5 separate regions of the Homo sapiens genome follow, and regions 2, 3, 4 and 5 are each linked to region 1. Evidence: promoter capture Hi-C in 16 types of primary human blood cells and fetal thymus (Javierre and others, 2016). All regions are on one chromosome and are shown on one strand. The core of a region is centred on a gene start or on the middle of the fragment in contact, and the rest is flanking DNA. Distances in the headings are between cores, read along the strand shown. Region 1 holds the start of DIMT1 (DIM1 rRNA methyltransferase and ribosome maturation factor). Region 2 has its middle 270 kb from the start of CWC27. Region 3 overlaps SREK1IP1 (SREK1 interacting protein 1). Region 4 overlaps CWC27 (CWC27 spliceosome associated cyclophilin). Region 5 has its middle 340 kb from the start of CWC27.

What was found. The method cuts DNA at HindIII sites, captures the fragments that hold promoters and counts their contacts. A CHiCAGO score of 5 or more calls a contact.
Region 2: a contact is called between a fragment that was not itself captured here and the fragment with the promoter of DIMT1 in region 1, in 1 of 17 cell types (total CD8 T cells). The highest score is 5.4, in total CD8 T cells.
Region 3: a contact is called between a fragment that was not itself captured here and the fragment with the promoter of DIMT1 in region 1, in 1 of 17 cell types (total CD4 T cells). The highest score is 5.8, in total CD4 T cells.
Region 4: a contact is called between a fragment that was not itself captured here and the fragment with the promoter of DIMT1 in region 1, in 5 of 17 cell types (non-activated CD4 T cells, total CD8 T cells, total B cells and 2 more). The highest score is 13.4, in non-activated CD4 T cells.
Region 5: a fragment that was not itself captured here is called in contact with the fragment with the promoter of DIMT1 in region 1 in 1 of 17 cell types (naive CD8 T cells); the score reaches 8.0 in naive CD8 T cells.

Annotation. Positions count from the first base shown.
Region 1 is chr5:62,402,440-62,407,040 of GRCh38, forward strand. It overlaps DIMT1 (DIM1 rRNA methyltransferase and ribosome maturation factor), which reads right to left and starts at 1,466. Exons shown (of 12, transcript NM_014473.4): 1 at 1,255-1,466; 2 at 834-907. The coding sequence starts at 1,333. RefSeq lists an enhancer at 1,387-1,676. The HindIII fragment of the contact is 1,140 bases long and covers 666-1,805 here.
Region 2 is chr5:65,037,873-65,042,245 of GRCh38, forward strand. No RefSeq gene overlaps it. Among named protein-coding and RNA genes, the nearest start is that of CWC27, 270 kb to the left of the region's middle. RefSeq lists an enhancer at 1-284. The HindIII fragment of the contact is 8,098 bases long and covers 1-4,373 here.
Region 3 is chr5:64,758,083-64,762,391 of GRCh38, forward strand. All of the region lies in intron 1 of SREK1IP1 (SREK1 interacting protein 1), which reads right to left. LOC124900985 (a long non-coding RNA gene) reads right to left here. Exons shown (of 4, transcript XR_007058787.1): 3 at 1,285-1,398. Among named protein-coding and RNA genes, the nearest start is that of SREK1IP1, 8.5 kb to the right of the region's middle. The HindIII fragment of the contact is 2,935 bases long and covers 322-3,256 here.
Region 4 is chr5:64,775,024-64,779,404 of GRCh38, forward strand. All of the region lies in intron 2 of CWC27 (CWC27 spliceosome associated cyclophilin), which reads left to right. Among named protein-coding and RNA genes, the nearest start is that of CWC27, 8.3 kb to the left of the region's middle. The HindIII fragment of the contact is 662 bases long and covers 2,023-2,684 here.
Region 5 is chr5:65,102,680-65,107,576 of GRCh38, forward strand. No RefSeq gene overlaps it. Among named protein-coding and RNA genes, the nearest start is that of CWC27, 340 kb to the left of the region's middle. RefSeq lists enhancers at 1-310, 311-811 and a silencer at 293-582. The HindIII fragment of the contact is 731 bases long and covers 1,334-2,064 here.

The DNA.
Region 1 (4,601 bases), core at 216-2,715:
CGTATCAACAAGTTCAAATGGGAAAGGACTGTACGTGTTGGGCGAAGATTTTTCAATTTTCAACCCATGTATGGTTTCAAGGATGCAGAAGAGCAGAAACTGTACACAAAATTGAATGTCTGCACACAGCTCTAATATTCTACGGCCATAGCTTTCATCAGATGCTCAAAGGAAACTATGAGCTAAAAAGGTTAAAATAGTACATGACCCTTCTTTCTTTTTTTCTCAGTTTTCAAATGACACGAAGCCTGACAAGATCCTTTAACTATGTAATGCTCTTTCTACAGCTCCAGGATGCTTTCCTTGCTTTTAACCATAAGTGTAATCTGCACCGTGTGTATTTCACTTCCTAACACCCAATCATCCATAACCATAAGAGAACATCAATAACTCAGAAAGCAGTAATACTCCAAGCAATTTATATGTGGTACTAGCATACACCAAATAATTTATATGTAGTACTATATGTTTTTCTGGGGAACAAACTTTCTAATGTGTAGTTTAGACATAAATAGATGGAGTACATAAAAACTAAGTGATCAAAAAGGTGATTAGAAATAGAAGAATAATTATCTTGAACAAATACAAAGGTCCAGCTATAAAGTAGATAATCCACAAAAAGACACAGAATTGGGAACCAGGAGAAACTCAGACCCACAAAATGAAGCTTATCATGCAGAAGACAGCCCAAGAATCCTAGACAATTATTTGATTCATTCAACAAATATTTACAGAGCATCTAATTTACGGCAGGCAGACTTTCTGCGCTTATGTATTCATAGGAATAAAATTAATAAACCAACAACTCTCTCCCTTTCCTCTTCCACACCCACCTTATCGATAATGCTGTTAATAATGAGAGGATTTTTCAAAATGTGCTGCCCAATCCCCGTGTTGAACATGAGTCCTGTAAGAAAATACGAAACAGCATTAATTTTCCTACTGAGATTAGATATTAGGCAGTACCAGAGAAGAAAGCTGCATGGGTATGGGGAAGATTTCTGCGCCAACCAGGGCCACGAAACGTCACGCCAGGACTGACAAACTCTTTATAAGTTCATCCTCCAGCTGGAAAGGAAGTCAGCGGCGACGCGCAGGGCCTGCGGCCGAGTCGGGGACCCACCCCTGCCTTCCGCGCTCACGGGAGCGCGTCCTGACCGGCCTCTGCCGATCAGGTCTTGGTCCGCACCCCAGGCTAGGTCCTGCCGGAAGACCTGACCCGACCGACCCCAGCTTCCTCGCGGGGATCCGCACCTCCAGCGCTCTTCAGCTCCCGGCGCTGCTCCTGCCGCCCGCGGCGGCGGCCGATGGCCCCCGACTTGACCTTCGGCATCTCGGCAGAAAGCGGGCCCACAGGCCCGGGACGTCAAGGAGGACCAAAGAGGGCTAGCGTGAGAAAGCCACCACGTGGGGATCGCCGCCACGCGCCGCCCGCACCACTCTGGCCCAAGCGCCGGAGGGGCAAGGGTCCGCCCCCTCCCGTACGCTCTGAGCTCCTCCTCCAGAAAAAGGGCGGACCTTGGAGCCCACTGACTGCCGGGAATTGGAGTCACAGAGGGAGGAAGGCCGAACCGCGGGAGCCTACAGATCCCAGAAGACACCGCGCTACCGAGGACTGCAGTCTGGAGTTGGAGCCCTTGTCCCAACCAGGGCTGGATAAGAAGGTGTTGGTGTGGTGCTCTCGGTGTTGCGAAGGCTGTTTAAGTTATATGATGAGGTTAAGCCTATGGATGTTTTAGTAGCCTAGGTTCTGGGATCGCTGAGGTCCAAAGAAGTATTCACGTGCCTCGCTCCTGTTTTCCTGAAGCTTGTGGGGGTGGGAAACCCGGGATTTGGGGATGAGCTTGCTCTTTTGTGGGAATGCATTTTTTGCTGCTTGCCCTGGGGAAAAGAACTGCGAGAATGGAATTAACGTCTGGTTTCGCTAGGGCTACTGGTTGCTTCTACTAAGAATAGAAGAGCCGGGCGCGGAGGCTCACGCCTGTAATCCCAGCACTCTGGGAGGCAGAGGCGGGCGGATCACAAGGTCAGGAGATCGAGACCATCCTGGCTAACACGGGGAAACCCCGTCTCTACTAAAAATACAAAAAATTAGCCGGGCGTGGTGGTGGGCGCCTGTAGTCTCAGCTACTTGGGAGACTGAGGCAGGAGAGTGGCGTGAACCCAGGAGGCGGAGGTTGCAGTGAGCCGAGATCGCGCTACTGCACTCCAGCCTGGGCGGCAGAGCGAGACTCCGTCTCAAAAAAAAAAAAAAAAAAAAAGGAATAGAAGAATAATTATCTTAAACAGATACAAAGCTCCAGCTACAAAGTAGATAATCCACAAAAAGACAGAATTGAGAACCAGGAGAAACTCAGACCCACAGAATGAAGCTTATCGTGCAGAAGACAGCCCGTGAATCCTAGAAAATTATTTGATTCATTTAACAAATAATTCAACAAATTCCTTTTGTGCCTCATCATTCACTCCGTAAACATTTATTGAGCTCCAACTGTGTATCAAACACTGCTAGGGATTCTAAGTAAGAAACTTATTTCAAAGTGTATTATATTGACAGAGATGGACAGAAACTCCAAAACGCTGTAAATACGATAACGTATTGGTCGTTGTGACAGGACAGTGTACCTGACTATAAACTCCGTGTGTACCAGGGCCATAATATCCACATCTGTTTTGCCAGCCAGTGTAATGGCTCTTTTAAATTTTTCTGTGTGTATTCTGTTTGGTTGAAGAAATAGCTTCTTCCTGTCATTACTAAAGCTAACTCTCTTTTGAGCAATTCATTGTGTACATTCCCAAACCTTGGTCTTAGGCCCTTCTTTCTTTGATGTAGTTCTAAGTCAGAAAAAAAATCTCGTATACCCTAGTAGCATCTTCAAGTATATGTTTCATTTCATCAATCATTGTTATTCCACAATTCTAAAGAGTACACTGTGCTAGGCACTTCCAAATGTTAATAGGATGGACATGGCCTGGAGAGGTGGCTCATGCCTGTAATCCCAGCACTTTGAGAGGCCAAGGCGAGCGGATCACTTGAGCTGAGAAGTTTGAGATCAACCTGGGCAACAAAGTGAGACCCCGTCTCTACAAAAAATACAAAAATTAGCCAGGCGTGGTGGTGCAGGCCTGTAGTCTCAGCTACTCGGGAAGCTGAGGTGGGAGCCTCACTTGAGCCCGAGAATTTGTAGTGAGCCAAGATTGCACCAACCTGGGCGACAGCATGATACCCTGTTTAAAAAAAAAAAATTAACATGACACAAAACCCTGTGTGTGATTTGTTATTGTTGTTGTTGTTGGGTTTTTTGGTTTTGTTTTTTTGAGACGGTCTCACTCTGTCACCCAGGCTGGAGTGCAGCGGCATGATCTCAGCTCACTGCAACCTCCGCCTGCCGGGCTCAAGCGATGCTCTCACCTCAGCCTCCCGAGTAGCTGAGACGACAGACATGAATCATCTTGTCCAGCTAATTTTTGTAATTTTTGTAGAGGCGGGGTCTCACTTTGTTCCCCAGGCTGATCTCAAACTTCTCAGCTCAAGTGATCTGCCTGCTTTGGCCTCTAGGTTGCATTTCTTCTGTGAAATAAAAGGCAAGTTTTTCTGTAGAGAAGGAGCTGTGGAGGTGGTAGGACAAGGGGCATGAGTGCGGAGAAGGTTTGAAGATCCTTTATGCGCAATGGGAGAGGAAGATTAGAGGGAACTCAAGAAGACATGGCATGTCTTCCAGCTAAATGTGGAGCCCAGTATCTCCAATGTGTACTGCTGTGTAACCACAGCCTGGAGACAAGAGCAGAGAAGGCAAAATTGTTCTTTTGATTCATCAATGAATGACCACTATTGCTCCCTAGAATAGCATTGTAGGCCTTTCAAATTAAGTTCCTATTTACCTTACTTATTTACTTCCCAACGTTATCAAGTTCCTTTTTCTTCCTTAAACATCTTTATACCTCGGCTTTGTGAGTGCTCTTCCTTTTGCATTCTCGACCTTCCCCTGGCTAACTTTTGTTTGCTGTTAAAGACACAACTCATATATATAATATAAATATATATATTTAAATATAAATATAAACATATATAAATATAAATATATATATATATATATATTTTAAGATAGAGCCTTGCTCTGTCACCCAGGCTGCAGTGCAGTGCCATGATCTTGGCTCACTGCAACCTCAGCCTCCCAGATTCAAGCTATTCTCATGCCTCAGCCTCTCAAGTAGCTGGGATTGCAGGCGTGCACCACCACCACGCTGGCTAATTTTTTTTTTTTTTTTTGTATTTTTAGTAGAGATGGGTTTTCACCATGTTGCCCATGCTGGTCTTGAACTGGCCTCAAGTGGTCTGCCCGCCTTGCCCTCCCAAAGTGCAGGGATTACAGGCATGAGTTACCGTGCCTGGCTTCAAATGTTATATTTTTAAAATAGTGGCCCAGGCTGGGTTGCAGTGAGGCAGACGTTGCAGTGAGTTGAGTTTGCTCCACTGCACTCCAGCCTAGGTGACAGAATAAGACTCCGTCTCAAAGAAAGAAAGAAAAGAGGGAGGGAGGGAGCGAAGGAAGGAAAGGAAGAAGGAAGGAAGGAAAGGAAGAAGGAAGGAAGGAAGGAAG
Region 2 (4,373 bases), core at 1,440-3,939, 2.6 Mb after region 1:
TTGAGCCACCTGAGAACTGGCAGTGAAGCAGTGATTTAACTTCAAAAGGGTGAGAATGGCTGTGGTGGCTTTCTTTTCCCTCTTAAGGCGGAAGAGGTTCCTGTCTCCCTGTCTCCTTCCCAGAACAGCTCCCTCTACTGACGGTATGGCTGTCATCCTCCCTCTAACCCACTTCCTCACCTCTGTGGTCTCCACCTAGAATGCAGGTGACTGTGTCTCCATAGGGTGAGATTTGCTCAAAGAGTAGAGAAAACCCGGCATCCTGAAAGCAACACTCCAGACCTGGCTGCCAGCCACAAACCCACTAGCTCCTAGATCTCCAAATCTACTCCTTTGTTTAGTACCCAAGGATTCTCACTGTTTCCATTACTGGAGGAAGGTTCCCTTCTAGCCATCCAGTTCACATAGGATTGGGAAGAAGCTAGCTCCATTCTCATCATAACCGGTGAGATCAGTTCCTCCAGGCTTGGGCTCCCAGCATCCCTTCTCCAAGTCACAACATTCTCTAGACACTTGCTGACCCTGCTATGTTCTGCCTGTTAAAAGGTCATCTGCTTTTTGAATTCTTTCCACTCTCCTCCCAGTTATTTGTGATAGTCTCTTAGAAGGTTAAAAATAACATTTATTTCCCCAGTGGTTTTGTATATTTCCATTTGGCAAACTTTATTTTGTTCCATGTGTTTCTAAGGGAACAGAAATGAAAATGGTTTATGTCCTACTTCCTACACTGGGCTCAATGATGTTGTCAGAAATGGAATTGTCTTTCGGTCCAAAGTGGGTACACCCAACCGTAAGCTAGGCTTTAATGCAGAAACTATATAAACTACAAAGACAATGGACATTGTTTGGCTATTGGAAAATCTACTGCGTTATACTTCCTTTAATCAAGCCATGAATTTTTTAATAGATTCAAGCCACTTTGCACAGACATGATAACAGTATAAAACTGGGTCACATTATAAGCATGAACCATGACACTGTGTCCCATTACTGAAATAAAACTAAAGGCAACATAAGAAGTCAAGATGGAGGGTGGTTGTTACTGGAAGGAGCACATGGAGGGGCTTCTGTGATGCAGGAAATGTTCTATTTGAAATCCAGGTGATAATTACATGAGTATGTTCAGATTGTGAAAAATCACTGAGCTTTACATTTATAGTCACATTTTTCTGTATTTATGTTCCACTTACACAAAACACTTAAACAGAGATTATGTTGAGGTAGACAGTTAAAGCAATGGGAGTGATTGTTCTTTCATTCAACAAACATTGTTTTAGTTCCCACTTGGTGCTCAATGGTAAGCAAAGACTTTGTACATATTACAGAATGAGTAAACTAAGGGCCACACAGCCTGATTTCAAGGATTTTACAGTTAATAGTCAGCTACAACGTAAGTTACAAGCGTTCAGTGTGTATACCAATATTAGATTCTTAGTTGGGACAAATAGACCATAGTAATATAAGATGTGAACATTGGGGGAAACTTGTTGAGGAGTACGTGGGAAATCTCTGTGCAATCTTTGCAAGTTTTCTGTAAATGTTGCCCTCTTCTAAATTTGAAATTGTTTAAAAATACTCAATTTCATAAGAATGACTATGAGGGAGACATTATTTTTGGACCAAGGAAATCAGAAGTGTCTTTGTAGAAGAAAAGAATGATTGAACTGGACCTTAAAGGAAGAATGAGATTATAATAAAGGGAAATGGAAAAGAAGTTTTTTAGATAGGGGAAACATGATACAAGAAACTGTGGAATGTGTGAAAGGACAGGACAGGGACTGATGAATTGGGAGCATGAAAAGGGTTGTGTACAATAGGACCCAAAGGGCAGAGGGCCTTGAAAGCAAATCGCGAAAGGCTTAAATTTTGTAAGTTAGCTAACAGACAAAAATTAAGCTCTGAATTGCTATAGAAATCCCTTGTTTTACAATGAAAAGTAAATATATTAATTACAAAATAGAGGCCGGGTGCGGTGGCTCACGCCTGTAATCCCAGCACTTTGGGAGGCTGAGGCAGGTGGATCACCTGAGGTCAGGAGTTCGAGACCAGCCTGGCCAACATGGTGAAACCCCGTCTCTACTAAAAATACAAAAAAATTAGTCAGGTGTGGTGGAGCATGCCTGTAATCCCAGCTACTAGGGAGACTTAGGCAGGAGAATCGCTTGAATCTGGGAGGCAGAGGTTGCAGTGAGTCGAGATCACACCACTGCACTCCAGCCTGGGCAACAAGAGAAAACTTCTATCTCAAAAAAAAAAGATAAAAATTAATATACTTAAATCATCTCCCCAAATCTCTGTATGTCTACCATAGAGCTAAAGGAATTAAGTCATAATATTTATAGAACACTTACTATATGACCACTACTTTATGTCTATCATCTTATTTAATTATCCTAAGATTCTTGTGAAGCAGTTCTTGTTTTATTTTACAGATAGAAGACTGAGAACTTGTTTATTTCCAATAAGTACAAAAGAGTCATAAATATAAAAAAACAGATATAGCCACCTGAAAACTTGTTTCCAACAAACACAAAGTCATAAACGTCAAAAATAATAAAGGACTTAGTGCTAGGATGTGCTTCAGTGGTTGAAATGGAACTCTGAGTTGGAAATATGTTTACATTTACACTTTGTTTAAATTCATTTTTTAACTGAAAAGATAGTCATCTGGGACTAATATGCATTATTCAAGATATAATGGTATTGATAAGCCCATTAATCAAGTGTGTTTTAGGGAATAATTCTGACAAGTGTGTTTGGCAAGGGTAATTATCACAGAGTACCAAAAACTGATAAAGTCTGGCCTACACAGACTAGACACAGTACAGGAGAACTCTCTCCCAGTTCAGTTAGAAACTCGTGTTTTGTGGAGTCAGAGACAACACAGCTAACTCCGTGGACAATAGAATGGACATCCCAGCTCCAAGCTGTGAATGTTTCCAAATAGTTCAAAGAGAATGAAAAGAGTTTAATCTTCCCATCTTGGGGTTTCCTAGAAGCATTGTGACTTGCCTTCAAAGCCAAGTTACTATGTGTTTGGGAATCAAATGGCTCAATAGTCGCTAATGTCATTTTTCTCCCTACTAAATACTTGGATAAGACACAGTAAGAAGAAAATAGGTTTTGTTTTGGCTGTTAATAATTCTCTAATCATGCAGAAATGAAAAGTTCATCAAAGATCCATAGTTTCTATTGAGAATTTCCTCCTATTGTTTTTTCTAAGAGTTCTCTTCCCCACAATAAACCACAAAACAATTTTTCCTCTCTTTATATTTGTTGAAAGAATTCAATTCTTGAGTGGAAATTTTGTTTTCCTTTAATTCCCAACAAACTGTATCCCATACCTGACAGCCTCAAGGTAGGAAGGCAGCGGAGTTATTCAAAGAAGCATTTTGTTCTTGGTCTTGCCATTCAATATCACAGGGTGTGATGAAAACTGGAACAAATATGGTCATCACAGAGGTGCCAGAACATTACATTTAAAAAATGGAATTATTTGAGTCAATCTGGAATGTCTGGTTCTTTTGGTTTGGGCCTCATGGGTAGCATTGTGCTTCAAAAACAACTTGAATTGGCTACCAGGATTCCAGAAGGGTAACATAATCCTGTACCTTTGAGGAGAGATGCTTATCTTTATGTCTACTCTTAGCAGAAAGAGGCTGGATTCTTCCACCTTTTCATGTTTCAAAATAAAAATTGTTCAAAAAGTTCCAAACCTGAATGGAATTTGGAAACAAGAGTGGGAGGAGGTACTTCCTCAAGTCTTTTGGTTTGTGCTGTTTTCTATTTGAAATAAATGCTCCACCATGAGTCAATATCCTCTAGAGCTACAGAAATGTGGGGTTTGGGGAAGGTTCATCCTCACCACTTCCCCTTATGTGATTTGGAATTTAGAGAAAAGGTCCCAGAAAAGATTAGTAATTCTGAATACAGTGCTCATATCTGCCCAGGAGACAGAGACACTTAAAGGGGCAGGAGCTGGCAATAACTCAACTCCTGGCAAATGCAGCCTGCAGCCCAGTGACCTCCACCCCTTGGAGTGATGCTGCTACCCCTGCAAAGGGCTCCACAGAGGGCTGTGAACACAGGGCAGGTCTCACTTTTCTCTTGTCAACAACACACAAAGTTGTAGGGGTGTGTCTGACCTTGATAAAGGGCTGGAGAGAACCAAAGGGAATTATAGCATATGAAGAAAGGAATTTTAAACTGTGTCATCCAACAAGGGGGAAAAAAATCCCCACCGAGTTTAGGGAACACACCCGAACTCCTAACCTGTTGACTTGCTGTCCCATAGTGGGAATGAATCCCTAGATACCTTCAGGACTCAAGGGCCTCATCCCTTGGGGGTTTGTCTACCTCCAGCATTTTTCTTC
Region 3 (4,309 bases), core at 539-3,038, 2.4 Mb after region 1:
AGCCAGGATGGTCTCGATCTCCTGACCTCGTAATCCACCTGCCTTGGCCTCCCAAAGTGCTGGGATTACAGGTGTGAGCCACTGCTCCTGGCCCTTCTTTTTTTGAGACTGAGTCTTGCTCTATCACCCAAGCTGGAGTGCAGTGGAGTGATCTCAGCAAACTGCAACCTCTGCCTCCCAGGTTTAAGTGATTCTCCTGCCTCAGCCTCCTGAGTAGGTGGGATTGCAGGTGCCTGCCACCACACCCGGCTAATTTTTGTATTTTTAGTAGAGACGGGGTTTCACCATGTTGGTTCCTATCTTTTTTTAATATGTCATTGAAGCTTTTGAGCATTGTACTCTAATCCCATTGTTTCCCTGTAAACCCTGTCATAGTTAAAAACAAATATGTTGTAGCAGAATTTGACTGGAATAAAATCAAATGAATAATATAATCTGAGGGTCTTTCATTTTGAAAACAACTGCATGTTGAGAAAAGCTCAGAGAATTGGGGTCAGCGTTAAATCTGTTTCCATAGAAACTGTAGATGCTAAAAAAATACTGAATAAAATTATGCTAAATGCATCATTACTATTACTACAACAGAATAAAAATGTTGTAATAGATCTGAAATAATCTTATCTCTGCATGTATTAGAATTGAACTCATGACAAAAGGCACTGATAAATTCATCACTCAAGTATCCCACAGTTTTAGAGTAAACAAACTATGAAACTTTTTCTTGGCAGATCATCATCTTTACTAAAGTTGAAACTTTTACATGACAGGGAAATATAACCAGAACTCTAAATAAAGTACTTTACATCAGCTAGTTCCTCACCAGTCTTTGGTTAAATTATTATTTCAGCTTCATTAGTCTTTAATTTTCGTGATTGTCTGGGCAACTGAATGCTTCTACCCAAGAGTTTGAATCTGAGGCAACTGACTTAATAGATCTGAGGCAAGTGACACAATAAAGTGGGGAAAGTTAATTCATTCTGCTGTCAGGATCCAGTTTCCAGGGGCACTGATGTCACTGGCAGTAGCAGCCCTAACCAGGTTTGGGCTTGTGCAGGATCTTGGATATGGGTTCCCTGGGTCATTTCTATTTTCTGACCCTTATTATGCAGGCTTTGCTTAGATTCACTGAGCTAGCTGATATCTTTCCTTTTCTGCTTAAGTTAACTAGTCAGTTTCTATCGTTTGGAATAAGAACCCTGGCTGATATAACGGTACTCAAAATCCATGTCAAAGTGACTATAGTAGAGCTATATTGTGAGGTCCTTACTCAGCTAAGTTACCTACTTCCCTGCCTTGGGCTCCCGTGCAGTTCTTGGCTCCATTCCTTTTTGAAGTTTGCTAAGGCTGTTCAGAGTAATACAGTGTGCCCACCTCAAAATTTTCCTTTCTAATCATGACCTGCAATCCAAAAGGCATTATATAAAAACTTATAAATTTGACATTGGAAAAAAACTGAATGGCAAAAACCACCAAAAGCAAACTCAAAAGACACGTGGAAACTTGAGGAAAAAATATTTGCGCCTCATAGGACCAAAAAAGAGCAATTATCCCTATGTATATATCTCAGCAAATCATTAAGAAAAAGATCAGTAACCAACAGGAAAAAAATGGGCAAAGGATGTTCACAGAAACGGAAATAGAAATGACTCTCAAACATGTGGAGATATGCTCAGTCTTACTTAAAACAGGTAAAATGTACACTAAAAACTATACTGGGATTCCATTTTCACTTATCAGAATCGCAAAGATTGAAAGGTTGAAGGAAGTGTAGGGGGGCATACTCTCATACATTGCTGGCAGGAGCATAAATTAGTACTATCTCTTATGGAAAGCAGGCTGACAAAACCTGTCAGAATTACAAGTGTACATACCTCTCTGACACAACAATCTCACATTTGGGAATTAGTTCTCCCAATTTATGTGCACAAATGCATACTGACTTATGTACAATGTTATTCACTATAGCATTGTTTTTAATAGGGACAGAGTAGAAATAATTTAAATATCAATACGGAACTGGCTAAATCAATTACGGTATGAAATAATGGGGATGGTTTTTATTTAATGATGTCATGATCGCTAAGATATACTGTAAAAAGAAAAAAAGCAAGGTGCAGAACAGTGTTTATGGCATGCTGCCATTCGTATAAAAAAAAGAAGATGATAGAGCAGGAGCACTGTCATCTGGGACAAACACCACCACTTTAAATTCCAGCTCCCTTTCTAGCCTCATGCATTTCAAGGAAATTACTTCTCTTCTAATTGTAAGCAGCCAGAAAGAACAGACAATAACATACAGATAAGACAGCTGGGCACAAAGGGAGGTGGGGGGAAAGTCTCTTGAGCAACTGCCAAACTTCACCCTCATACAATGGGCCCCAGTAAAATAGTGGGCCTTAATAAGCACATTCCTTTCCCTTCAGGTGCACTAGGATAGAAAAGCTACATGCAGACTGATAGGCCTGCAGCTGCAGAAAGATGTATGGGAACAGACACACAACTCTCCCTCCCAGATAAGCACAACAAAGAGTCAGAGAAGCAGTCCAAGCCTCTGATAAACTCTCCCACCCTGAATCTTTAAAAACTCTTAGTTTGTAAGTGAGTGTGCCTCTGACCTAACTTGGCCAGAAGGCACCTCTCACGTTTGTTTTCTCTAAATAAATCTGTCCTGACTGGCGAGCCATCTTTTCATGTTTCTTACCTCTTTCTTTAATTCTTACAGAAGATATTAGACATACCTCTGTAAGGATATAGATTGGTTACTTGAAGAAAGAAAACTAAGTCCAGACAGAGAAGGACTTGAGTAAGAGACATGTCACTATATACCTTTTGGCAGTTTTAAAATGTGAAAGGTGATTAAATTACCCTTTCAAAAACCAATCTGGAAAATCTCCCTCAAACAAACAAAACTGTAACACTAAGAAAAGTAACTGTCAAGTAAACATTATCTGACAAAAGGCAATTATTGCATTTGTAAATTCTTCAGAGAGGTTACATTGCAGACTTTCAATAAAATTTTATTAATTCATGATGTCAGAGTCTTCATTCTTATACTTGCTAAATATTAAGGGCTTACTCTGAATCTAGTATTCTGTTAAACAACTTGGGTGATAGTGGGAGGAATCAGGTAATTGGGCTGGTCCTTTTTCTTCCAGTAACTTAAAGTAGCCATATAATTTTGAATCCAACTCAGTGCTTACCATGATGGAGAGTTGCTAAGAGGTGCTCAACAAATACTTATTGATTTGAGGTTATAAGCTTAAGAAAATACAGTCATGTTTCATTTAATGACAGGGATACATTCTGAGAAATGTGTTGTTAGGCACAACACAGAAATTTTGTCCTTGTGGCAACATCATGGTGTACATAAATCTGGGTGATATAGCCTGCTATACACCTAGGCTATATGGTATAGCCTACTGCTCCTAAGCTACAAACTTGTACCGTATGTCACTGTATTGATACTACAAGCAGTTGTAACACAATGGTGAGTACTTGTGTATCTAAACATACCTAAACATTGAAAAGGTACAGTAAAAATAAGAGTATTATAATCTTATGGGACCACCATTGTATATGCAGTCAGTTATTGACCAAAACATCATTTTGTGGTGCATGACTATACTTCAGAAGTTGGAAACTGGCAACTTCTCTAGACCCCAGTTGCCAGCTAAGAAATACGCGTGTGCGTATACACACACACTCAATTTATTTGTCAAAATTCTTCAAGCCAAACATTTGTGATCTGTGCTGTTTTTAAAACATGTAAATTATGTCTTAGCAGTTAGCACAAAAGAAAAAAAATTTTAAAGTTAACAGTAGACAACGAAGAAACAGAAAATATTGAGAAAACCAAAAAGAAGGGACAAAAATAAAAGGACTGAGAAAAATTGAGAGAAAGATGGCGAGTCCTCAACACTTGCTTCAGGTTGGTCAGTGGTCCGCAAAGGAATGTCATATTCGATTTAAATTTATTTCCTTGAAATTTTACATCACCTATCTTTCCAAAGGCAACAACTTAGTCACTGGGAATTTTAACAGTGATGCTTAGAACTTAATATATTTTTCCTATTGTCTATTTTGGAATTTAGGGAAGCCTGACATTTTCATTACATTAAAATATTTCCTAGAATCGCTTAAATTTAAACATATACAGCTTAAGTAACTAAGTTTTTTAGTACTAAGTAATTAGAAATTGCAATTACTTCTGTCACAGGACCCATTCTTTTCATTTTTAATTGGATTAGAGTCAATTAGATTAATTTTGTTTAGTAACAAGTTTTATATTTGGTTACTCCATTATGGTTTT
Region 4 (4,381 bases), core at 1,104-3,603, 2.4 Mb after region 1:
TCTTTGGTCTTCTTTGCTATCTTACGCTTCTTCCTTTCATTCTCTAAATTTGGGTATTCCCTAAGATTGCCTCTAGTTCTCTATTGTCATCACTCTCTAGTTGTTACTTCAGTCCAAATGACTACCACATTAAGAACTTCAGTCATTTCTTCTCTTCCTAGTACTAATTTACATATCTAATTGCCTAGTGGACTTTTCAACTGGAGCCTTCCACTGTTAGCTATAACAAAACCAGTGTAAAACCAAATTTACCAATTTCTTCCCCAGTCTGCCTTTCACCTGTATGACTGTAATTGCCTCTTGCCTGCTCCCCTTCCTGTCTTTCATCCTTAATTTCTTTTCTCTCTTCCTTGTTTATATGGTATTTGAATCCTCAGGCAGCTTGGCTTCCTAGCTATCCAACTTTCTAGCTCATTGCACTAACCACATGGTTTTAGTTGGACATTATTTCCTAAGCATTTCCTTTCCGTTTCCACTTTCATACATGTCCTCATACTAGTTCCCCTTCTTTTGGTATGCTTTTTCTTCCCTTTTTTTACTGTTTAAGTCTACCCATTTTTAAATGTCTGTTCAAAATTCTAGTTTCTCCACACAGCCTTCCAGCTAGCATCCAGTGATATTATTATCAATGTCTCTAGTTTTTTTAGATTTGAGTCATAAAGTAACTATTTTTCTTTTTTTAAAATGCTGCAGAATTATACATCCACTGAAGTGTTTTTCCCTGCAGAGTATTCTCTTAGGGAAGTAAACCTTCCATTTTTAGAGCTTTTTGTTGGCTTCTAGAATACATTACATATGGTTTGGAATATCTCCAGCGGTGGCAAATCATTGTTCTTCTAAGTTATATTTGATTTTTAGAGACAGTTTTATTCAAGGTATCAGAAAACAACATTTTGGGTCAGAAGCAAGGTGTGAAAGAGAATCCAGTAGTATGGTATGATGAGATCTCTCTAAATAGACGTAATTATCAGGTGAAGATTTAAGAAATGAAAAATACCCAGATACCACCCCCTCTCCAAAAGAGAGAGGTGGGGAGGAGTGGAGCGAGAGAGAGAGAGAGAGAGAGAGAGAGAGAGAGAGAGAGAGAGAGAGAGAGAGAATGAAAGGACATCTGCAAAGACCATTATTAATAATTGCTGTGGCAGGCAGGAAGGAAATAGAGTCAGGTAGGTAGTTCAGTCAGAGAGGCCTCAAATATCTGTTAACCAAGTTGAGAAACACAGGAGACATGAAAAAGTCAGACTTGTTTCTGGTAAGAAGTTTTGAAGATTCAAAAGCTCAAGTTTTACAGAAGGAGAGTAAAATTACAAAAACATTAGAAAGAATGAATGGTAAATTGCAATCCATGACCAGGTGAATGGAAGAAGCAGAAAACATCTGGATACAATGTGACAGTGAAGAAGAAATGAGGTTCTTAAGTTGGGTGATGATAAAACTCAATTATTACAACAATTATTCCCCTATTTATAATAATGCAAGGAGAAAGAAGAAAGAATAGAAAAATAATTTTAAAAATAACCACAACAATTATCTTAATCAAATTCACCAATCCTCTTAATTGAATAGAGATAGAATTATTATTGGAAAGGCTAACATGAAGCCTAAGAAGACTGATTTAAACAAGGATACTCCTAAATAAGTTAAGTCAAGGTTTCAAAAATATAATCCAGAAAACCCCATTTTAGTTCTTTGCTTCTATGATTTAGACGAGTCATAATGTTTCTAGATCTTGAAACACTCATATTTATTTTTTTAAAGCATGGTTTCCAGAATTTAAAAGCAAATGAATAAAACATGAACAAGTAAGAGCGCAGTCTCAGATATGGCCCTCAACTAAAATGATGTTCATAGCCAAAGGATGGTTTATAGCCTTTAAAAAACCAAAGGATCTACATTATACAGACTTAATCTTAGATTTTTGGTCTTTGCAGCATAGTTAGGTGGACATTTAAAATGAGTGGAACTTTTAAAAACTTATCAATTAAAAAATAGAGCAAAAAAGATATAAAGGAATGAAAGGGAAGCTTATTAGCTTTGATAATTTCATTAGTTCCTCCAGTGTGAGGAAGGAGTATAATTTTATGTTTGTTTTATAGACAAGTGGGGAGCAGAGGGAGAAGTGGATAAGAAAATCAAAATGTTTAATACATTGTGTGACTACTAATCTCTTCACCTTTATTTCACATCATTCTTGTCTCATCATGGTCCACACTTCATTGCTTATCTTTTATTCTTTAATAATAGTTTACTAATTCTTTAGAGTGACAAATATAAGCATAAATATGCTATAAGTTAAAAGAAATTTCTTTACAAAACTAAAATATTTGTTTAAAAAAATACCAGATAGTGCAGACTGGTCGCAAGATGAGTGTTAGATAAAAAGTTATTAATGATAACATTTACATAGTTAAACACAAAACAGGATTCTAGAAGAAGAAACGTATAACTACTTTAAAGTGCAAGTATAAATTCCTCTATGAACTTGGGCAAGAAATATAATTAGTCAAAATATATGATAATGCCCATAGATTATTGTAGCCAGAAATAGAAACCATGTGACAAATACTAGAATGACAGCAATCAAATAGGAACTTTGTTTCATATTTAAGATACATTTAGGTATCTTTTTTCAATAGTGGAGAACATTCAGGAGGATATTATGAACGTGCATAATGAAATAATAAAGCTTTTTCAAAACACTTGTGATGATGCATAAAAATTTAAGAAAATCAAATAAACATTGCAAGCAGCAAAATATACAGTATTATAAACTATAAATACAACTATAAATGCATAGTTCAATAGTGATTACTAATAAATTACAAAGAAGTAGAAATAGTAGATATGGAAGATTTGTGGACATTGGAAATTCCAGCTATGTTAGAATACAAAGTTATAGTGTAGAGAGTATAGAAAATTTTTACTCATTTATATATAGTATAATAATTTCATGCATTCAACAGGAATATAACTAGGAAAATCATAAAGAAAATCTTAAAATAAAAAGCCAGCATCACTGAAATACTTAATGGGAAATAGGAAAAAGAAAGAAAATGGTGAAATTCTAAAATTTGAAAACACAAGTAATAAAGACCTCTTTCATGTCCTTTTTCCGTCACAGGTAACATATATCTGGGTTTTATGGATCTTGCTTCATAAGTAGTTCTTGAATCTGTGTATCTCAAGATAAGCCATAGTTATGTAATGACCTCAGGATAGTAGTTGCTTGCTTGCATTCTCTCACTGGCTCTCTGTCGCATGCACTTGCGCTGTCTCTTGCTTTCTTTCTCTCTCTCTCTCTCACTCCCCCTCTCTCTCCAGTCATGTCTCTTTCTAATATATTCACACTGGGTAAGAGTGACATTTTGAAAATGCAAATCTGATCATGTGCACAGTGCTCAAAAAGTATTGGTTGGCTGCTTATTATGGGTCTAGATGAATATTCATTATATGATATATACTGGGGTATATTTTATATTCAAATTTGAATATGAATTTGTAGCATTTGAGTGAAGATATTAGTTTGACCTCACATTTGTGTTGAACTTGAAAATGTGTAGTTTGCTTTCATATTATTTAATCTTCAGATTGACACTGTGCCTTAATTTATGTTATTAGATTTATGAGAAAATGGAGTTTAAGACTGTATAGCTAGCAAAAGGCAAGACTCAAACTCCTGACTGCTACATACAGTGTTAGTGTAACTGATGAAATGGTTACCTAGGAATATAGGAGAGATACTTTAAGACCTTTTGGTTTTTATAGTATCTATTTGTAACCAGAGGGAATTTGTCTGCACTAGGGAGCTCTTGTAAATGCAGCCCAACTGCCCTGCAATGGGAGAAGGGACTAAGCAAAAATCAGCTGGTCTTCCTTTCTACTTCTTATGTACTGTGTACTAAATACAGTTGTTAGAATACAGATTATAATTTTTAAAATATGCATTGTATATCCAGTTATACTTTGCAAATATAAATAATTATGAGGGTGTCTCCAAGACACTAAAATAGGAACTTTATAAATTATGTCAGTAACTGTATCAGTAAAATGCCTGGCCCACAGTAGATACTTGATAAATATTTTTCATTGAATGAGTTATATTCAGGTTGTATTCAGTTGCAGGTAATAGAAGACCCAACTCAAAATGATTTAAATAATAAAGACATTTATCCTCCTGTATGTCAAGAAATCTGGTGAAATCTTTAGGGAAGCTCAGTGAAATCTTTAGGGAACTGTGCTTTTTCCATCTTTCTGCTTTGTAACCCTCAGCATGTGATTGAATCATGACTGCCTAACTCGATGATTGGCTCAACCACAACCTGCTTTGTTGCTATTTGCTTTTTGTTTGTTTTTACAACAACAAAAATAATAGCTTTTGTTT
Region 5 (4,897 bases), core at 449-2,948, 2.7 Mb after region 1:
AATGGAGACAAAGAGAGGTGTTAGGAAGCAGCACTGGCGTCCTGCTTCCTCTCCCTATGGGTTCCCTCTGCCTTTCTCCCTCGTCTCTCCCGGAGGGCTCTCTCCCCTCCACACGCCTCCTCCCCAAGAAACCAACATAAGATAATTCTCTTCACTTTAGTTCTCCTGTGCCTGGGTGTAGATGGGAATAAAGCGATGAACCTACGGGGCGAGCGGTGGGCAAAGCTTTCTGTGTATTTGCAGCTCAGCAGTCGAGCGTCCACCCCAAGCTGCATAAACTTGGGTGCCCTCGCCTCCGGCAACCCCGGTGCTTCAGTGCTCCCGACCTTTCTCTGCCGCCCCTCGCCTCGGCGGCCGCCGGGAGCGGCTGTGGGGTGCGCCGGTCGCCCCGGGCCCGAGCGGGAGGAGAGTCCCGCCCCGCCGCGCCCCGCCTCCGGGCGCCCCGACGCTGCCGGCGCGGACGCCATTGCTGCGGCCGCTGTTTGTTATTAAACTGCCCAGAGAAAGGGCTTCGAGTAAAAACACCAACTTTCCAGTCGGGGCGGCGCAGGTCCCCGGGCCCTGGAAAGTTCTGGGACGGCCGAGGTCTCCCCGGACACCCGCACCCACGCCCCCGTCGTGCCCTTTCTGGCTTTTGGCTTCCTCTCCTCGATTTCCCTTTTGTGCGGCCCCGGGCAGCTTCCTCAGGCCCCGCCGCCCCCACCTGGCCGCCCTGGGAGCTGTTCCTCCCCCAGCAGCAGGAGCATCCAGCTCGGGTTTTATTACCTCCCGAGACACTCGAGGAAGCCTCAGGTGGGTTTCCATGTCAACCTTCACTGAAATCCAAACATTTGGCGTTCTCAAAGGCAGTTTAACCTCTGCCACCATTTTTTTTTCAAAGCTTAAAAAAAAACCTAGAACTTTCAAAAGCCGCAGGCTTCTGGGGGTTTCTAGTCAGAGGGTGATAACACATCTTGAGACAGGATATGTATAATTTGTTTGGTTTCACGTTTATCCTCACAAAGCTAAACAGTAATGACTGAGAGCTATGAAAACACTTAGGTAAGGAGAGGGGCTAGAGCAGAGATAAAAGGGATAATTGGAAACAGAGGCGAAGCCTCCAAGTTGCACCTTGTTGAATACTGTCACAGCCGGGCAGGCCGGGGAGCTCATGGCAGGATGCGGCATCTCTTAATTCTGGGCACTCCGCAGCCTCTCCTCTTCCAAGGTTTACTTACGCAAGCTTAGCTGCAATTTTCCACAGATACTCGTCCTGGTTCCGGGCCACCTTCCCCAGTAAGAGACCTCCTGAGGCGGGAGCTGGGGGTTGAACATGTGGTGAACACAGGTTCCAAGCTTTGGAACAGGCCACCTGGAAATGGGAGATAACCTGTTGAGATAAGGGATTTACTGAGGCCAGGGCGCACTGTAGGGAGCGGGGAGCAGAAGGAGTGCGGCTCCACATGTCCAGTCGTGGGATGCAACTGGGAGGTAATATATGAGTCTAGTGAGACCACACGGGGAATACTATGTTCCTCATTGCCTCCCAAGGAAGATGCACATAATGAGCTGGCTGCCTTTCAGAGAAGAGCAATTAGGATGCTTAAGGGGCCACAGGGAGTGACTTAGGGGGAGAGATTAAAAGAATTAAGTATGTATACCTTGGCTGAGCTCAAAGCACAGGGAATGTGGAAACTCTATAAGCATCCTCCGAATATAAACATAAGGAGAAGTGGAATTGTTTCTCATGGTCCCTGAGGGATGGAACTGGAAGTAATAGGGTAGAAGAAAAGAAAACTTAACTACCTGCTAGAGAAAGCTGCTGAGCAGTCCCAGATACCAAAAGTGTCAGAGTCACACCTAATATTTTTAGAAATAAAGTCAACAAAGGAAGACACGACATGATAGGAGAAAAATACGTTTAGATAACAGGGACTGGTCTCACAGGGATGCTTTGAAGGGGTAAGAAAATAACACAAGTCAGTTTCTTTTAGGGAGTATCTGAAACCTTTGAAGGCTGCCTACTAACTAAAGTTTATTACCAGGTGTTTTTGCCTGGCATTCAAAGCCCTCTCCATCTGGCCAAGCTTACCCTCCTAAAATAATCTGTCATCAGTCCCCAACATAAGCACATCTCCTGAGTGCTCCTGGTGTAGTTCCTCCTTTGCGCGTGAAATTCCTCCAACCTGAAATTCCTCTAACCCGAATTTCCTCTCTCCAATCCCAGTGTCCAGCTATTCAAGTCTTACCCACTTTTTAGGGTCTACTTATATCCTACTTCCCCTGGCTACCCCAATCCATAATGCTCCTGCTGTCTTCCTCCTCCTAGAACTCATGTTGGTACCTGTCATACATTACTTGCATTGTTAGCTGATGTATTCTGATCTTATCTGGTCTTACAGATTGTGAGCTTCTTAGAAACTAGAGGGCATGTCCTCTCCCTTCCACTTCCCATCACTTTTTAATTCTCCGTGCTAGCTTTCATAACCATTATGAACCATAATTCACACAATAATAGGATTCTTTCCTGGTTTCTTCCTCTCTCTTGCTACTTCTTAGTTTTCTCTGATCTTCCTTTGGATGTTGGTGCCCCCAGAGTTCCTCCTCTTTTCTCACTCTCCATTCTTCCTGGAAGATCACATCCAATCGGGGGCTGCAGTGACCCTGCCAGTGCTGATGATTCCCAAATCTCTGTCCAGCTTGGCTGTTTCTTCTGTGCATCAGGCCCTTATTGGGCATCTCAAATTGGCCGTCCCATGTGCTCTTCAGCACTCCTATGGTACAAATCTGAACTCACTTTCTCTTTCAAACCATCTCTTTCTATTCTTGTGTTTCCTGTCTCAGAGAATGGCTCCCACATCCTCCTATTTGCCCAAGCTAGAAATCTAAGTGTCATCCTTGGCTCATTGCTGCCTTTCCCCCACAATCAGTCAATCACCAAATTCAGTTAATTCTACCACCAGAATATCTGAAGTGCTTTTGTGTCAATTCTATCACCTGAATATCCAGAGTGCTTTTGTGTCTGCCCGGGACTGCCGGCATCTTCCTACAGCCTTCCTGGTAACAGACCTTACTTCCTTGACCATTGGGGTGACCATGTCCCTTAGACAATGCTCTTATCTCTCCAAGGGGAGAGGTACTTTGGCCACAGAATTGAGTCCAGACATTAGCACATGATCCGAGCCCAGCCAATCCCAGCATTTCCTGGGAACTTGTATTCTGAATCTATTCTGAATCAGAGACAAAATGTCTCCTTTAGTTAGAAGCTGTAGAGATGTGATCTCAGAGCCACCAACAGGCCATGTACCCTACCAGGCCTGAAAGATGAACAGCAAACTTTCCAAGATGCACAGAGATGAGGGCAAAAGTAGAAAAGGGGTCCTGGCAGCACTCCATTCCCCCATCCATCCCTTGCTGGCCAGCAGCTCCCTTGTCTTTCTGTGATTCAGTTACTGAAACCAAGAAGTTTCTCATTTTTAATTGAACTTTTTGAGGTGGTTTCTGTCTCCTTGAAACAATTCTGATTAATAAATCAAATCTGTCTCATCCAGGCCACTGAAAGCCTTCTAACTGATTTCTGCAAACAACCTCACACCCTTTTATGCCATTCTCTGGTGCAGCACCATGACCTTTCTAGAACTCAGTCTTATCAAGATACTCCCGACCCAAACACCCAGATTTATTTCCAAGGCTTATGAGGCCCCTCACATCCTCACTCCTGCTTGCTTCTTTTCCCCATCTCTTGCATTCCCTGCTCTAGTATTCCTGAATGTCCTTCAGGTCCTCAGGGGCAGTGCTCTCTCTCCTTTAGGCCTTTGTACATAGTGTTCATTCTGCCTAGTTTCTCTTCTCCAGCTAATTGCAACTTGCCCTTAAAGTCAAAGTGGGAATGTTACATTGTCAGAGAGGCTTCCTCTGACTCCTAATCTGGGTTAGCTATTCTGTATTTCATTGATTACAACACTGCTTTTCACACATCTTAACGTATCTACTTGTGAAATACCTTACCTATCCCCACTAGTCTATAAATCCCTAAGAGCAAGTCCATGTCATAGCATCATAGAACTTAATACTTTGCTGGACATAATGAATTAATGATACCAGCTACCACCTATTCTCAAATGTGTATTTCCCCGTTGGGTTCCACATATATACAGGTGTCCTTCTGTATTTGTGGGGGATTGGTTCCACCACCTCCTGTGGATACCAAAATCTTTAAATGCTCAAGTTTCTAATATAAAATGGTGTACCATTTGAATATAACCCACGTACATCCTCCCATATGCTTTGAATCATCTCTAGATTACTTATAATACCTAATATAATCTAAATGCTATTTAAGTAGTTGTTATACTGTATTGTTTAGAGAATAATGACAAGGAAAAAAGTCTATACATGTTCAGTACAGATGCAATTTTTTTCTAATATTTTCAACCTGTGGTTGGTGAATCCAGGGATGTGGAACCTATGGATACAGAGAGCTGATTATATTTCTGACTGTATCCCAAACTGCTCCTCTTCCTGTGGTCCTTATCCTCCAAGGAGCACAATCTAGAAGCCTAGAGTCACTTTTTTTTTTTTTTTAGACAGTCTTGTTCTGTTGCCCAGGCTGAAGTGCAGTGGTGCCATCTCAGCTCACTGCAACCTCCACCTCCTGGGTTCAAGCAATTCTCCTGCCTCAGCCTCCTGAGTAGCTGGGATTAGAGGCGTGTGCCACCACACCCAGCTAATTTTTGTATTTTTATTAGAGATGGGGCTTCCCCATGTTGGATAGGCTGGTCTCAAACTTCTGACCTCAAATGATCCTCCTGCCTCAGCCTCCCAAAGTGCTAGGTTTAGAGGTGTGAGCCACCACGCCCAACCCTAGAGTTACTTTTTGATGCCTCCTTTCTCTCCTCCAATATCCGTTCGATCAATA